Linked DNA regions of Homo sapiens: region 2 is linked to region 1. The links are contacts of gene promoters, found by promoter capture Hi-C in human tissues and cell types (Jung and others, 2019). All regions are on one chromosome and are shown on one strand. The core of a region is centred on a gene start or on the middle of the fragment in contact, and the rest is flanking DNA. Distances in the headings are between cores, read along the strand shown.

The links. The method cuts DNA at HindIII sites, captures the fragments that hold promoters and counts their contacts. A contact is called where the count stands out against the background at its distance.
Region 2: a contact is called between a fragment that was not itself captured here and the fragment with the promoter of MAN1C1 in region 1, in 1 of the 25 tissues and cell types used here (lymphoblastoid cells).

Annotation. Positions count from the first base shown.
Region 1 is chr1:25,613,554-25,620,155 of GRCh38, forward strand. MAN1C1 (mannosidase alpha class 1C member 1) reads left to right here and starts at 3,238. Exons shown (of 12, transcript NM_020379.4): 1 at 3,238-4,784. The coding sequence starts at 4,245. RefSeq lists an enhancer at 2,504-2,673 and silencers at 2,864-3,153, 3,174-3,463. The HindIII fragment of the contact is 13,132 bases long and covers 1-6,602 here.
Region 2 is chr1:25,351,310-25,357,911 of GRCh38, forward strand. TMEM50A (transmembrane protein 50A) reads left to right here. Exons shown (of 7, transcript NM_014313.4): 4 at 317-384; 5 at 1,573-1,665; 6 at 5,484-5,544. Among named protein-coding and RNA genes, the nearest start is that of TMEM50A, 16 kb to the left of the region's middle. The HindIII fragment of the contact is 5,999 bases long and covers 265-6,263 here.

The DNA.
Region 1 (6,602 bases), core at 1,988-4,487:
TGAATAAATATTTGTTGACAGAATAAATAGATTTTTTAGAAATAGCTGTTTGTTTCTGTTCCCAGTTCCATTTGAATTTCTGAATTAAACTGAGAAAGATACTGTGAAGGTTAATTTTGTGTGTCAATTTGACTGGGCTACGGGATGCTTACATAGCTGGTAAAACATTACTTCTGGGTGTGTCTGTAAGGGAATTTCTGGAAGAGATTAGTAATTGAATCAGTAAATTGAGTAAAGAAGATCTGCCCTTACCAGTATGGGTGGGCAGCATCCAATCCACTGATGGCTGAAACAGAACTAAAAGGAAGAGGAATGGCAAATCCATGCTCTGTGCTTGAGCTGGAACATCCATCTTCTCCTGCCCTTGGACATCAGCTCTCCTGGTTCTCGGGTCTTCAGACTCAGACTGGGATTTACACTATCGGCTCTTGTGGTTCTCAGGCCTCCTGGCTTGGACTGGAACTACACCACCAGCTTTTTAGACCTCCAGATTGCAGATGGCAGATTGTGGAACTTCTCAGCCTTCCATAATCACAGAAGTCAATCCCTCATAATAAATCTCTTTTTATATATCTATATATAGCCTATTGGTTCTGTTCTGGAGAACTCTGATTAATATAGATACTTATAACTCATCCCAAGTCTCTCTAAGCCTTGGTATTCTTATCTGTAAAATGGGGCTATTAATAATTATCTACCACAAAGATTATTCTGAAAAGTAAATAAGACAATATGTATTTGGCACATAGAAAATGTTAGTTCACTGTTCTTCCATTCCCCGAGCTTCAGTTTCTACATCTGTGAAATGGGCATCTACTCACTCATTTCTTCATTCATTTACTGAGCAAACACAGTGCCCATGTGGAAGGCATTGTGGTTAAGACCCGGGGCAGTTAGAGAAGTTAGAGAGTTAGAGAAGTGAGGAAGCCGTGGTGAAGAACTGAGCATCTGCTTTGTGACAACACACCAATAGTCTTTAAAAGTCAGTGGGAGAAGAGCCACGGGATGTATGAGGTCTCTGGGGGCTAGAGGTGTGGGGCAAGGGGACACCCAGGGTTTCAGAGAGCTTTTTAGAGAGACTGGTATCTCCCTAGCAAGTGATGGTATCAACAACTTGGTGTGATCACCAACATCACATCACTTTGCAATGGAGTTACCTGCTGGGGCCTCTGGTTTTCATAGCCTGAGTGTGAAAGGCACGTCAGTCCTGCTGCAGCCCCACTTTCCACCCTGGCTCACAGAGCACACCAGAGTTTGGTCAGAGTGTCACATCACAGTGAGCATCTAGTTCAAACAGACATTTCCTTCTGAGATTCAGCTCTGCTCTTCTCCCTTTCTGGATCCTACCTTCACAGGGGACTGAACAGTGATTCCCCTACACTCTCAATGAGGAACAACACAGATGATGACTCTAATGAATGCTGGGTCCCTGCCTGGTTCTCCAAAGACAAGGTTGCCCTTTCCTGCAGTGGGACCCAGTGAGGCGATGCTTGGGTGTTGGAGACATGGGTGAGGCCAGGCCAGGTCTCTGGGCTCCTGCACCCAAATGGGTCACATGCTTATCTCTGATTTGCACAGCTGGCTCCACATCAACCTGCCAACGAAACTCACAAGAGATTGAAATATCTGAATTAGAATTTTATATTTAAGCTGCATATATTTGTGGGATTGGGAAGGATTAGTCATCTCCAGTGACCAAAATGTTTGCACCTGTTACCCACTTTCATTTTCAGTTGAGAGAAAGTTGCATGCCAGGGATATTTAAACATCGAGGGTGGGTCTGCTGTCAGTGGTCTGGCCAGAGGTAGAAGGATGACTGAGTCCCAGCCGCCCATCCCCAGCAGGCCTCAGGGAAGAAGCAAGATTTACGAGGCGAGAGCCTGCCTGGCCCGCTTCTTCTGTCGGGAAAGGCTTCCCTGCAGTATTTTCTGTCTCGTCAACACTGCATTTCATTTTAAATTGCAGCTGAAAGTAGATATTTTCCCTCTTGCCTATTACAAACCTCTTAATTTGTCTCTCCCTCTGCTGTTATTTGTCTCTATAAAGTGTTTTGCATGAAAGACCCACACAGCACAATGTTGCTTCACCCTGGGTTAGGTTTAACAGGAAGGGAAGATGCAGAGACTAAGTCCAAGGAGGAAGATGTGAGGGCCTTGGGGTTGAGGACACGCGTGTCTGGGAGTTGATGCCTGGCTGTTTTTGGAGGTTATCTGTTGCCTGAGTGTCTGTGGGTATGCGGGTGCACATGTCCATGTTTGTACTAATTTACATATATGTCTATGCATACTGTGGTATAATCACTTGGGTGTCCATACCCAAATTAAGTGTATGTTTGAGTGCATGTACACACCCACATGCCAGTCTCTGTGTGCATATAGATCTATGCCCAGACGCACACATGTGCATATAAACACACGTAGGCATCAAGGTAGACGTCCGTCACATTATGTGTGTGGTCTTCTGTAGACACGCCCGGGGCTCTCTTCCTTTCGCTGCTTCTCAAGGCTGCGGTCAGCCTCCCTCCGTGCTCCACCCAGGAGCCCTGGCCCCGTTTAGGGTTGTGGGAAAAGGAAGGCACGCCAGTGGTCTGCGAGGGGGCCAGTGGAAACATCACCTCCGCCGACCCGGCCGCGGTCACAGCTCTCTGGCTTGGCTCCAGCCACCAGCAGCACCCCTGCAGCCCGGCGTTAGCGCTGAGAAGCCCGGGGCAGCCGCCAGGGCGCGGGCTGCCAGCTCCCTGACAACCCCGGGCTGGCACTCGGGGGCGAGAGAGGTCACCCAGCGACGGGCACACCCCTCCAGAGCAACACCGTCTCCGGCCCGCTTCCGGGGGCCACCAACCCGAGCCTCGCGGGCGGGCTGGGGGGTGGTCTCTGTCGCTTGGGGTCCAGCGAAGGCTGGGCAGTAACCAATGGACGACTGTGGCCCAACGGGGATCCCTCGGATGCAGCCAATGCCCTCGTTGCGCTCTCCGCCCCCGCCCTCGCCTGCCCCGCGCCGCTGGACCATTGGCGCCCGCTGGATGGGGGGTGCGCGCGACGCCTGCCCTTCGGGGAGGGCGGGGCTTGGAGCGGGCTGCGCTCCCGCCCGCGCTCGGCCTCTGCCCCGCCCCCGGACGCGCGGCCCTCAGCCGGCTGCGGCGCGGCGGCGGCGGGAGGGGGCGCGGGGCGCGCGCGTGGGCGTGGCCGGCGGGCGTGGCCGGCGGGCGGCAGGAGGCGGGGCGGCGGGCGCTGTCGCAGTGAAAGCCCGAGCGGCGGCGGCGGCGGGGACGGCGGTGGAGGCGGCCGGGTGGCTGTGCGCGCGTGTGGGGCGCAGGCTCGGCGGCAGCGGCCGGTCTGGAGCGGCCGCTGCGAGGAAGACAGCTGCAGCGGGGGAGGCGCGGCCAGGGCTGCGCGCTCCGCGGAGCCGGCGGGGCCGGGAACAGGTGATCCCAGTGGGAGCCCCGCGCCCTGCCGAGTTCGAGGGGCGGGAGCCCGCGCTCCCGGGCGCATCTGCAGCCGCCCAGCCGCGGCTCCGGACCCAGGCATCCCTGCGCTGTCTGGGGCCCGGGGGAAGCCCCCTGCCCCCGCAGGCTCGGAAGTGCCTGCTCCTGCTCCCTGGCCACTCCGGCTCCCAGCTCCCGGCGCCCTCTCCGCGGCGGAGAAAGTTGTGGACGTGTCCCGATAGTCGAGCCCGGGCGCTGTCGCGACCGGGCCGGGTGTGCGCGCGCTCGGGGCGGCGCTGACACGCCAGCCCCCCATCGCCTCGGTCCCCTCCGGAAACTGCTTCTGAAGCTGAAACTTTGGGCGCCTACCAGCGCGGGCGGGAGCCTAGGGGGCGGAGGGCGGCTTGGTGCGGGCCTGCGGGCGCCCCTCGGCGCGGACAGCCGGGACGCCGCGGACGGCATGTGACGGTCCCGGCGGCCGCAGCGCGGGAAGGCGCGGGCCCCGGCGCGGCGGGGAGGGCTCGGCCGGAGGGGAGGCTGCGGCGCGCGGCCGGTCGCTGCGGGCCCGGGCCCCAAGCCGTGCCGCTCCGCTCGCCCGGGCCCCGCCGAGGCCGCTGCGCCCCCGCCTCCTCGCGGGAGGACTCGCTCCAAACTCCCTGAACTTCGGGGACAGTCCCCCGAAGCGGCGAAACTCTCAGGGTTGGCAACCCTGCCCAGGGACCCCCATCCCGGGCGGCGCTCCGGACGCCCTCCCCTCACCGCGCCCCCGCAGACACGTGCCTGGACTCCGAGGGCTTCTGGAGCCACCGGCCGGGCCACGATGCTCATGAGGAAAGTGCCCGGCTTCGTCCCGGCCTCCCCGTGGGGGCTGCGGCTGCCGCAGAAGTTCCTCTTCCTCCTCTTCCTCTCGGGCCTGGTCACCCTGTGCTTCGGGGCCCTCTTCCTGCTGCCCCACTCCTCTCGCCTCAAGCGCCTCTTCCTGGCCCCCCGGACCCAGCAGCCTGGTCTGGAAGTGGTGGCTGAAATCGCCGGCCATGCCCCGGCCCGCGAGCAGGAGCCGCCTCCCAACCCGGCCCCCGCCGCGCCGGCCCCGGGCGAGGATGACCCCAGCAGCTGGGCCAGTCCCCGCCGCAGGAAAGGGGGGCTGCGGCGCACCCGCCCCACTGGACCCCGCGAGGAGGCCACGGCGGCCCGGGGCAATAGCATCCCGGCCTCCAGGCCCGGGGACGAGGGCGTCCCTTTCCGCTTTGACTTCAACGCATTCCGGAGCCGTCTCCGCCACCCGGTCCTGGGAACGAGGGCCGATGAGAGTCAGGAGCCCCAGAGCCAAGTGCGAGCCCAGCGGGAGAAAATCAAGGAGGTATGGACTCAGCCCCCAAACTCCTCCCACCAACTGCCCCCTCTAAGGAGAGAAGACCCTCTGGCGCTCCCACCCCTTTCCCTTGCCTCAGTCACTCCTGGTCCCAGGTCTACTTCTGGCCCTGCAGACTGCACTTTGCACCTTCCCCTTTCCTCCCAAATGTCCCACCTTCTTTCCTCCCTACACAGTTTCCCACCACTCGGGTCAGTTAATCGTCCCCACCGTGACAGATGGCAGCTGAACCCCTAGACCAACTGCCCCCTCACTCCCAGACTCTGGTATGTCGTATCCAACCCCCAGGCCCAGTGAGCTCCACTCCTTCCCTTTGTGGAGTTGCTAATGAGAGTGGAGTTCAGGTTCCTTAGTGCACCCTCTTTTTGCATTTGTGGACACAGAGCCACTGGTCCCATTCTTTTTCACTGTGTGACCTTAAGTCCAAAACCCCTATAGGACCTGCTTACCTAAAAACCCAGGATTTAAGGGGGTATTTGGTGTCCTGCAAATATTTTGTAATCTAGTAAGCAACCTACAAACCAGAGGATGTTGTGCATTCTGTTTCTATTGAGCTTATTGAGCTTCAGAACAATTGTACACAATTGTACATAATTGCATATGATGCAGGAAGAGATGATAAAGCAGTGGTCATATTACAGAAGCTCCGAGGTTATTGGCATAATGAAGCAGATCTTGAGCTGGTTCCCTGTAGGGATTGTACCAGGAGGGATTTAGAAGGATCACTTTAAGTCTGAGTCTTAGTTTAAGAAATCAAAAGCAAACACAGCCTCACAAGGCTTGAAGACAGTTGCCAGCTTGCCACTGCCACTAAATATTCTGCTGGACCACTGTTAGAACTGCCTGCGTGCGGATGGTGCCCAGCAATGCAGAGGGGGCTGCAGTGACACCCCCAGGCCACGAGGGGGCCGTGGGCAAGCTGTGGGCCAGGGTCTCCTCCCTAGAAACGAGAGGATGCTCTCCCCTCCCCATGGACTCAAAGGAAAGAAAGGGCTGCTTCTGCCTGGACTTCTTGATTTGCTGCGAAGAAGTCAGCAGTTCGACCCTGATTTCCAGGAAGAGCAGGCAGCAAGGATCAGGACCTGCCCTGTCAAGACCTGCTCAGAGCCGATGGAGGGCTTAGCCAGATTATCCCCTTCTCCTTGTCTGAACCATCCTCCCTTCCAGCGCCCACCTCTCTTCCACTTCTTATCTTTTCTGTTACTCTGTTTGGAGACTTAACTAGCAATCACAGGACATTTTGTGAAGTTACAGTAGGAAGCCACAGGGAAACTGAGTGCTTGGTGTGTATGTGTGTGTGCATGTTTGTGTGCTCTCAGTTTCCAGATTCCTGTTGAAATCTCAGGTTGAGTGACAGCTGGAACTTGCAGTAGCTAAGTAAGGGGCATTCATTTCTCCCTTTCTTGTTAAGGAACTACGCTGTTGAATACTCACTTGGACCACCCATAGCTCTTTCTCAAAGCTGCTTCTGAGCACAGTGGCTCTTTTTGCCCCTCTCGACCTCCCAGTAGGGCAGTGACCCCCAGTGAAATTACATATAAATTGCATGCATGCAGTTTTTCATGGGGCATCCAGAGGTGCCATCAGATTTTCAAACTGATCCCCCAAAGGATTAAGAATTAACTATCATCTTCCTCAGAAGAGATACTCTCTGTGTTTGCATTTAGATGGTGGTCCATTTCCGAATGCCAGGGGCTGGAGAGTCATGGCAGGAAGGAAGGGCTGGCTAGTAGGGAACTTGATTCTCCCTCTCTGTGTAAGACAATTTATTTTGCCAGCAGAGTCTGGGATGATGCTTGCTGGAGT
Region 2 (6,602 bases), core at 2,014-4,513, 260 kb before region 1:
CCAGCCTGAGCAACATAGCAAGACTTTGTCTCTACAAAAATTTTTAAAAATTAGCTGGGTGTGGTGGTGCACACCTGTAATCCCAGCTACTCAGGAGGCTGAAGTGGGAGGATCACTTGAGCCTGGGATTTCAAGGCTGCAGTAAGCCATGGTTGTGCCACTGCATTCTAGCTTGAGCAACAGAGTGAGACCCTGTATCTTTAAAAAAAAAAAAAAGACTTTCAGGCCTAACCTTACATTTGAGAAACTGTAGATTATTGTTTCTGGTAATTGGTGTCATGGACCCTGATTTCTTGGTTTTATTTTATTCATACAGGATTAATGCAGTATCGAATGGACAAGTCCGAGGTGATAGTTACAGTGAAGGTTGTCTGGGTCAAACAGGTAAATAGGTGCAAACAGCATCTTATTATACATGCTTAAATCCTTAAGATGAGTATTTCACATGGAAATACCACTTTTCTATTTGTTTTAATATATCTGTGAGTAACAGCTTATTATTTTGAATCTATTGTTTTATGTTTTGGGCTTGAAATTGGGAATTAATATATAACATTCTATTTGCCGTGCTTTATTGAGTGTAGGCAGTGTTTTTATTAAAATGTATTTATGCAAATTAAAGAGGCCCTATCAGAATTCATTTTAGGCAGTCATGACTCCATTTATTTATAGCAAATCTTCATAAACATGTTAATGTGATTTGAAAGTTGCCTGTCCTCCTCTGTTAACATAATTTTAATGCAACCTTCCTAAGTTCTAGTCACAGTAAATTTGAATTTATTTTGCTGCCTAACTTCCCTGAAAGTGAAATATGGTAGCTTGGAGATTCGTATGTCACTGAATATGAATTTTTTACTGTATGTCTGTGTTACTGTTTGAAAGTACTCTTGGAAGATCTGGGAGCGGCCGGGCACAGTGGCTCACGGCTGTAATCCCAGCACTTTGAGAGGCCAAGGCAGGCAGATCACAAGGTCAGGAGATCGAGATCATCCTGGCTAACACAGTGAAACCCCGTCTCTACTAAAAATACAAAAAATCAGCTGGGCGTGGTGGCGGGTGCCTGTAGTCCCAGCTACTCTGGAGGCTGAGGCAGGGGAATGGCATGAACCTGGGCGGGTGGAGCTTGCAGTGAGCCGAGATTGCGCCACTGCACTCCAGCCTAGGAGACAGAGCAAGACTCTGCCTCAAAAAAAAAAAAAAAAAAAATGTGGGATCATTGTCTATATAAAAGCATAAGGAGAATGAGCCTCTAAATATGGTGAAACAGATTTTATGAGATGTTTTATAGGAAGGTTGAGTATAGGTTTTCTCAGTGTAGGCAGTTGGGGAAAGTAAGTATATGCACTTATACAGACTCATAAATAATTTTTAAAAATCTATACAGACCAACCAAGAAGAAAAAGGCCAACAGGTACACTGATGAAGATGTTTAACACATCCTTTACTGTTCTCACGTTAGACTTTAATGGCAGTTGCACTTTTTTTTTTTCTGTTTGGGTTTTATTTTCTTTTTGAAAGTTAATTGTACTGCCCTATAAGAAAGAATTCTGGTAAAATATTATTTCTTTGAAGGTGCTCGCATTTGGCTTTTCGTTGGTTTCATGTTGGCCTTTGGATCTCTGATTGCATCTATGTGGATTCTTTTTGGAGGTTATGTTGCTAAAGGTAAGAGAAAACATAGGTTACAATTTACTTCAGTGGAATACTGGAATTTTGCATTAAAGTTGGTTATTTTAGAATAAAATTTTTTTCCTATAGTTGGGCCAACTACTAGCGATGCATTTATATCCGGGACCCCCCACCCTCCACCGACAGTGTTTGGTTTTCTTTGTCTTATATATTTTTAGTATTCCTTTCTTCAGTCATTTTTCTTCTTATCCAGAGCCTGGAAGGGATGAGACAGCTCTAAACACTGCTTTTCTTTGGCTTCCAAAAATCTCAAAAGCAGAACATATGTTATCTAGCTAGTTAGCAAGCTTTGTTTCTTTTTTAGAGACAAGAGTCTCACTATCACCCAGGCTGGAGTGCAATGGCATGATCATGGCCCACTGCAGCCTCAACCTCCTGGGCTCAAGCCATCCTCACACCTCAGCTTCCCAGGTAGCTAGGGCCACAAGCACACACAACCACACCCAGCTAATTTTTAAATTTTTTATAGAGATGGATCTTGCTATGTTGCTAAGGCTGGCCTTGAACTCCTGGCCTCAAGCCTGGCCTAACAAGTTCTGACTTTCAGAATATCTGTGCAAAGCTCTAACATCCCAGAATTGAGATTTATTCAGTTAAGCCTCCCTGGTAATATGATGTCACCTCCTTTCAGACAGAAAAGTAAACTAACATTTAATATACATCTGCTATATAAGGCCACTTTAAGGCAAGCTCAGGAAAAGGTATACTGTTAGACCCTGGGAGAAATTTCACCTTGAGGGACCCTAGAAAAACAGAAAACCCATTTAATGGTCCAGGTAAAATTGCTATGGGTGTCATAGTAAAAATACAGTATTAATGATTTATAAAAACTGGACCAGGTTATATATATTCTGCTCATATTTTAACACTTATTTGAATAAAATGTAACTTGTAGATTAAAATAATGTTTCCTAAATTTTTATTAAAATCATTTAATCTCATAGATGGGAGTAATAGATATTTCCAAATATTTGTATTTTTAATTTTATTTTAATTATTTTTTTTATTTTTTGAGACAGGGTCTGCTCTGTCACCCAGGCTGGAATGCAGTGGCACAATCTCAGCTTACTGCAACCTCCACCTCCCAGGCTCAAGCAATCCTCCCACTCAGCCTCCTGAGTAGCTGAGATGACGGGCGCATGCCACCACGCCCTGCTAGTTTTGTATTTTTTGTAGAGATGGGGCTTCACCATGTTGCCCAGGCTGGTCTCAAACTCCTGGGCTCAAGTGATCTGCCTGCCTCAGCTTCCCAAAGTGCTGGGATTACAGGTGTGAACCACTAGGCCTAGCCATGTGTAATTTATTATTAAAATCATGTTACCAAAATTGTAGAAAATAAAAAAGGGTGGGTGCAGTGTAATCCCAGCACTTCAGGAGGCCAAGGAGGGAGTACTGCATGAGGCCAGGATTTTGAGACCAGCTTGGACAACATAGGGAGACACCATCTCTACAAATAATAAATATTTAGCCGACTATGGTGACGTGCATGTGTGGTCCCAGCTACTCGGGAGACTGACGTGAGAGGATCACCTGAGCCCGGGAGGCAGAGATTGCAGTGAGCTGTGATTGTGCCACTGTACTCCAGCCTGGGTGACAAAGTGAGACGCTGTCTCAAAAAAAGAGAAAAGAAAAGAAAAAAAGAAAAAGAAGTAATAATAATTTCACCACTCTTCAATATTTTGGTTTATTTCCTTTTTTCTTATGTTTTTAGTTATTATCATAATTTTTATCCCCCGTTTGCATTTCACATGATATTATAAGTTAGTTGTTCTTTTGCTGCTATAAAATCTGTTTTTTATATGTATATTTGTTGCCCAGGCTGGAGTGCAGTGATGCGATCTCAGCTCACTGCAACCTCCGTCTCCCAGGTTCAAGCAATTCTTCTGCCTCAGCCTCCCAAGTAGCTGGGATTACAGGCGCCTGCCGCCATGTCCAGCTAATTTTTGTATTTTTAGTAGAGACAGGGTTCTGCCATGTTGGCCAGGCTGGTCTTGAACTCCTGACTTCAGGTGATCCACCTGCCTTGGCTTCCCAAAGTGCTGGGATTACAGGAGTGAGCCACCACGCCCAGCCATCTATATATTTTAAAATGTATATATTTTGAGTTTGAGACCAGTCTGGCTAACATGGCAAAACCCCATCTCTACTAGAAATACAAAAATTAGCCAGGCATGGTGGCACACACCTCCAATCCCAGCTACTTGGGAGGCTGAGGCACGAGATCTCTTGAACCTGGGAGGTGGAGGTTGCAGTGAGCTGCGATCACGCCACTGCACTGCAGCCTGGGTAACAGTGGGAGACCCTCTCAAAAATCAAAACAAAAAAAAAGGAAAAAAATTACCTTGTTATCATGGGAATTGCATAATGCTTATTCATTATAGAAAACTAAGAATATAAAAGAACTCAAAAGAAGAAAATGAAATTACTGATAATTCTTTCCCAGATACAACTATTAATACAGGGTCCCTTTTTATAGGAATGTCTTTATCTCATAATTTTAGGCTATTTTCCTGAAAGCTTCTGGAGCAAGGTTATGTTTTGAGAATTATTAGCAGCAGATCTGTAATTTTATAAAGTTGGCTTTATAACATTTTTAGAAGCCATTCTAGTGGTAATGGTTATTTAACGTGAAATAGTGGTGAAGACCTATGCAAACCATCTGTTATGTTAATCAGATTAACCAAAGCTGTTCTGAAATGAGAAAAATTTGACAGTTCACCTATTTATTGTGCCTCTGTCAATGAGCAGTCATTAACAATTCCAGTAGTAGAAATTTATGAGAATTTCAACTTCACTTCTAGATACAATCAGAAAAAAATGTTGCTCCAGCAGTCCTTCCAATCTTAGTTAATGGCTGGCTACTCTATCTTTCCAGGTGTTTAGGCCAAAAGCCCTAGATGGTGAAGGCCTGTCAAAGATGACATTTGTCTTCCTCCCACGCCCCATATCCAATCTATCTGCAGATCATGTTGACTGTGCTGTAAAATATATCCTGAGTCTAACCACCATTTACCATCTCTCCATTGCTACCACCCTGGTTCAATCCATCATAATCTCTCACCTGATTTCCTGGAAGAGCCTCCTAACTGGTTTCTGTTTCCTCTCTTGCCTCCTTTAATCTACCCTCAGCACAGCAGCCAGAGGGATCCTCTTAAAATATGTCATCTCAGATCACTTTTCTGCTCACAACCCAGTGGCTTCTCGTCTCACTCAGAGTAAAAATCAGAGTCCTCACTGTGACTGCCAGGTCTCTGCTGCCCAGTTGCCCTCTTTCTTTACCCTGTCCCTGCTCTTCCCTCTTGTGCCTACGTGGCTGTTCCTGTAATTCACTGGCGTGCTCCCTCAGGGCGTGTGCATGGCTTCTTCCCCACTTCCTGCGTGTCCTTACTCCAGTGTCACCTTCTCATGGGGTCTTCCTGGCCATCTGTGTCCAATGTCACACTACACTTCTCCACCTTTCCTGCATTATTTTATCTTCTTTTTATTCAGTATATTCTCTAGTTCCATGAGGGCAAAAAAAATTTTACCTGTTTTGTTTATTGCAGTATCCTCAGTATTAAATAGGGCCAGCATACAGTATGCCCCCAGTAAATATTTGTTAAGTGAACTAAGGGAGCTATCATTTACTAAAGCCATGCTAGACTCTGTTACACATTATGTCTTTTAATACTCAAGCCAACCCTAATTCTAAGAAAAATCAATTCTTCTAGGCAGGAAAACTGGTATTTGCCAATATATCTGAAACTAAATGTTTTGAGATCATAACCCTCTAAACACTGCAATTATTTTTACAGAAAAAGACATAGTATACCCTGGAATTGCTGTATTTTTCCAGAATGCCTTCATCTTTTTTGGGTAAGTTTGTTTTGCATTCTTTATGTTTGTTTGTTTTTTTTTAAAATAGCTTCTTTTATATCATTTTCTATATTTAGTTGCCTAATTACTCATCCAATGCCCCTCCCCCATGATATTTTCATAAAACATGGAGAGTAAGGTTGAGAAGGATATTTTAAATAGATGAGTTGGTTTGCTGCCAACCTTAGGAGCATATATTAATTTTTAAGATTGCTACCACGCCCCCTTTTAATGAGTGAGTAACTATGATTCATGAAAATTTAGTTACATAACACTGGTGATGTTCATTTTAAACTTAGATCTCTAACAGTTGCTTTAAGTGAAAGCCTGCCTAAAACCATTTATCCTTAAATTTTGGTTTCTGATATATTTTATAATTCTTCTGTCCTTGATATCGTAGAGTTTGTGAGTGAGATTTGAGGTGTGGAGGAAAAGCCCAAACATTTTTTTATCCTTCCCTTTCAATTACAAATGAAAAGATGACGAAAACCTCTAAAAACCTCAAGGCTTTTATCAGTAATCTTCTCTGATGTTCATCTTTCCTAGAAATTTAGGGCCTGCCCTTTTCTCTACCCATGCTGTTCCTCCAACCAGCCCCCACAACCTACCCCCATCACTGGCCGAAAAACCCCACAAACAAAACAGCTCAACAGCTCTTAATCCTCTGCATCAGGAGTGTGTGTGTGTGTGTGTGTGTGTGTGTGTGTGTTGTGTGTGTGTGTGTTGTTTTGAGACAGAGTCTCAGTCTCTCACCCAGTGTGTGTGTGTGTGTGTGTGTGTGTGTGTGTGTGTGTGTTGTTTTGAGACAGAGTCTCAGTCTCTCACCCAGGCTGGAGTGCAGTGGCACGATCTCAGCTCACTGCAACCTCCGCCTCCCGGGTTCAAGTGATTCTCCTGCCTCAGCCTCCCGTGTAGCTGGGACTACAGGCACACGCCACCACGCCTGGCTATTTTTTTTGTATTTTTAGTAGAGACGGGGTTTCACCATGTTGTCCAGGATGGTCTTGATTCCTGATCTCGTGATCTGCCTGCCTCAGCCTCCCAAAGTGCTGGGATTA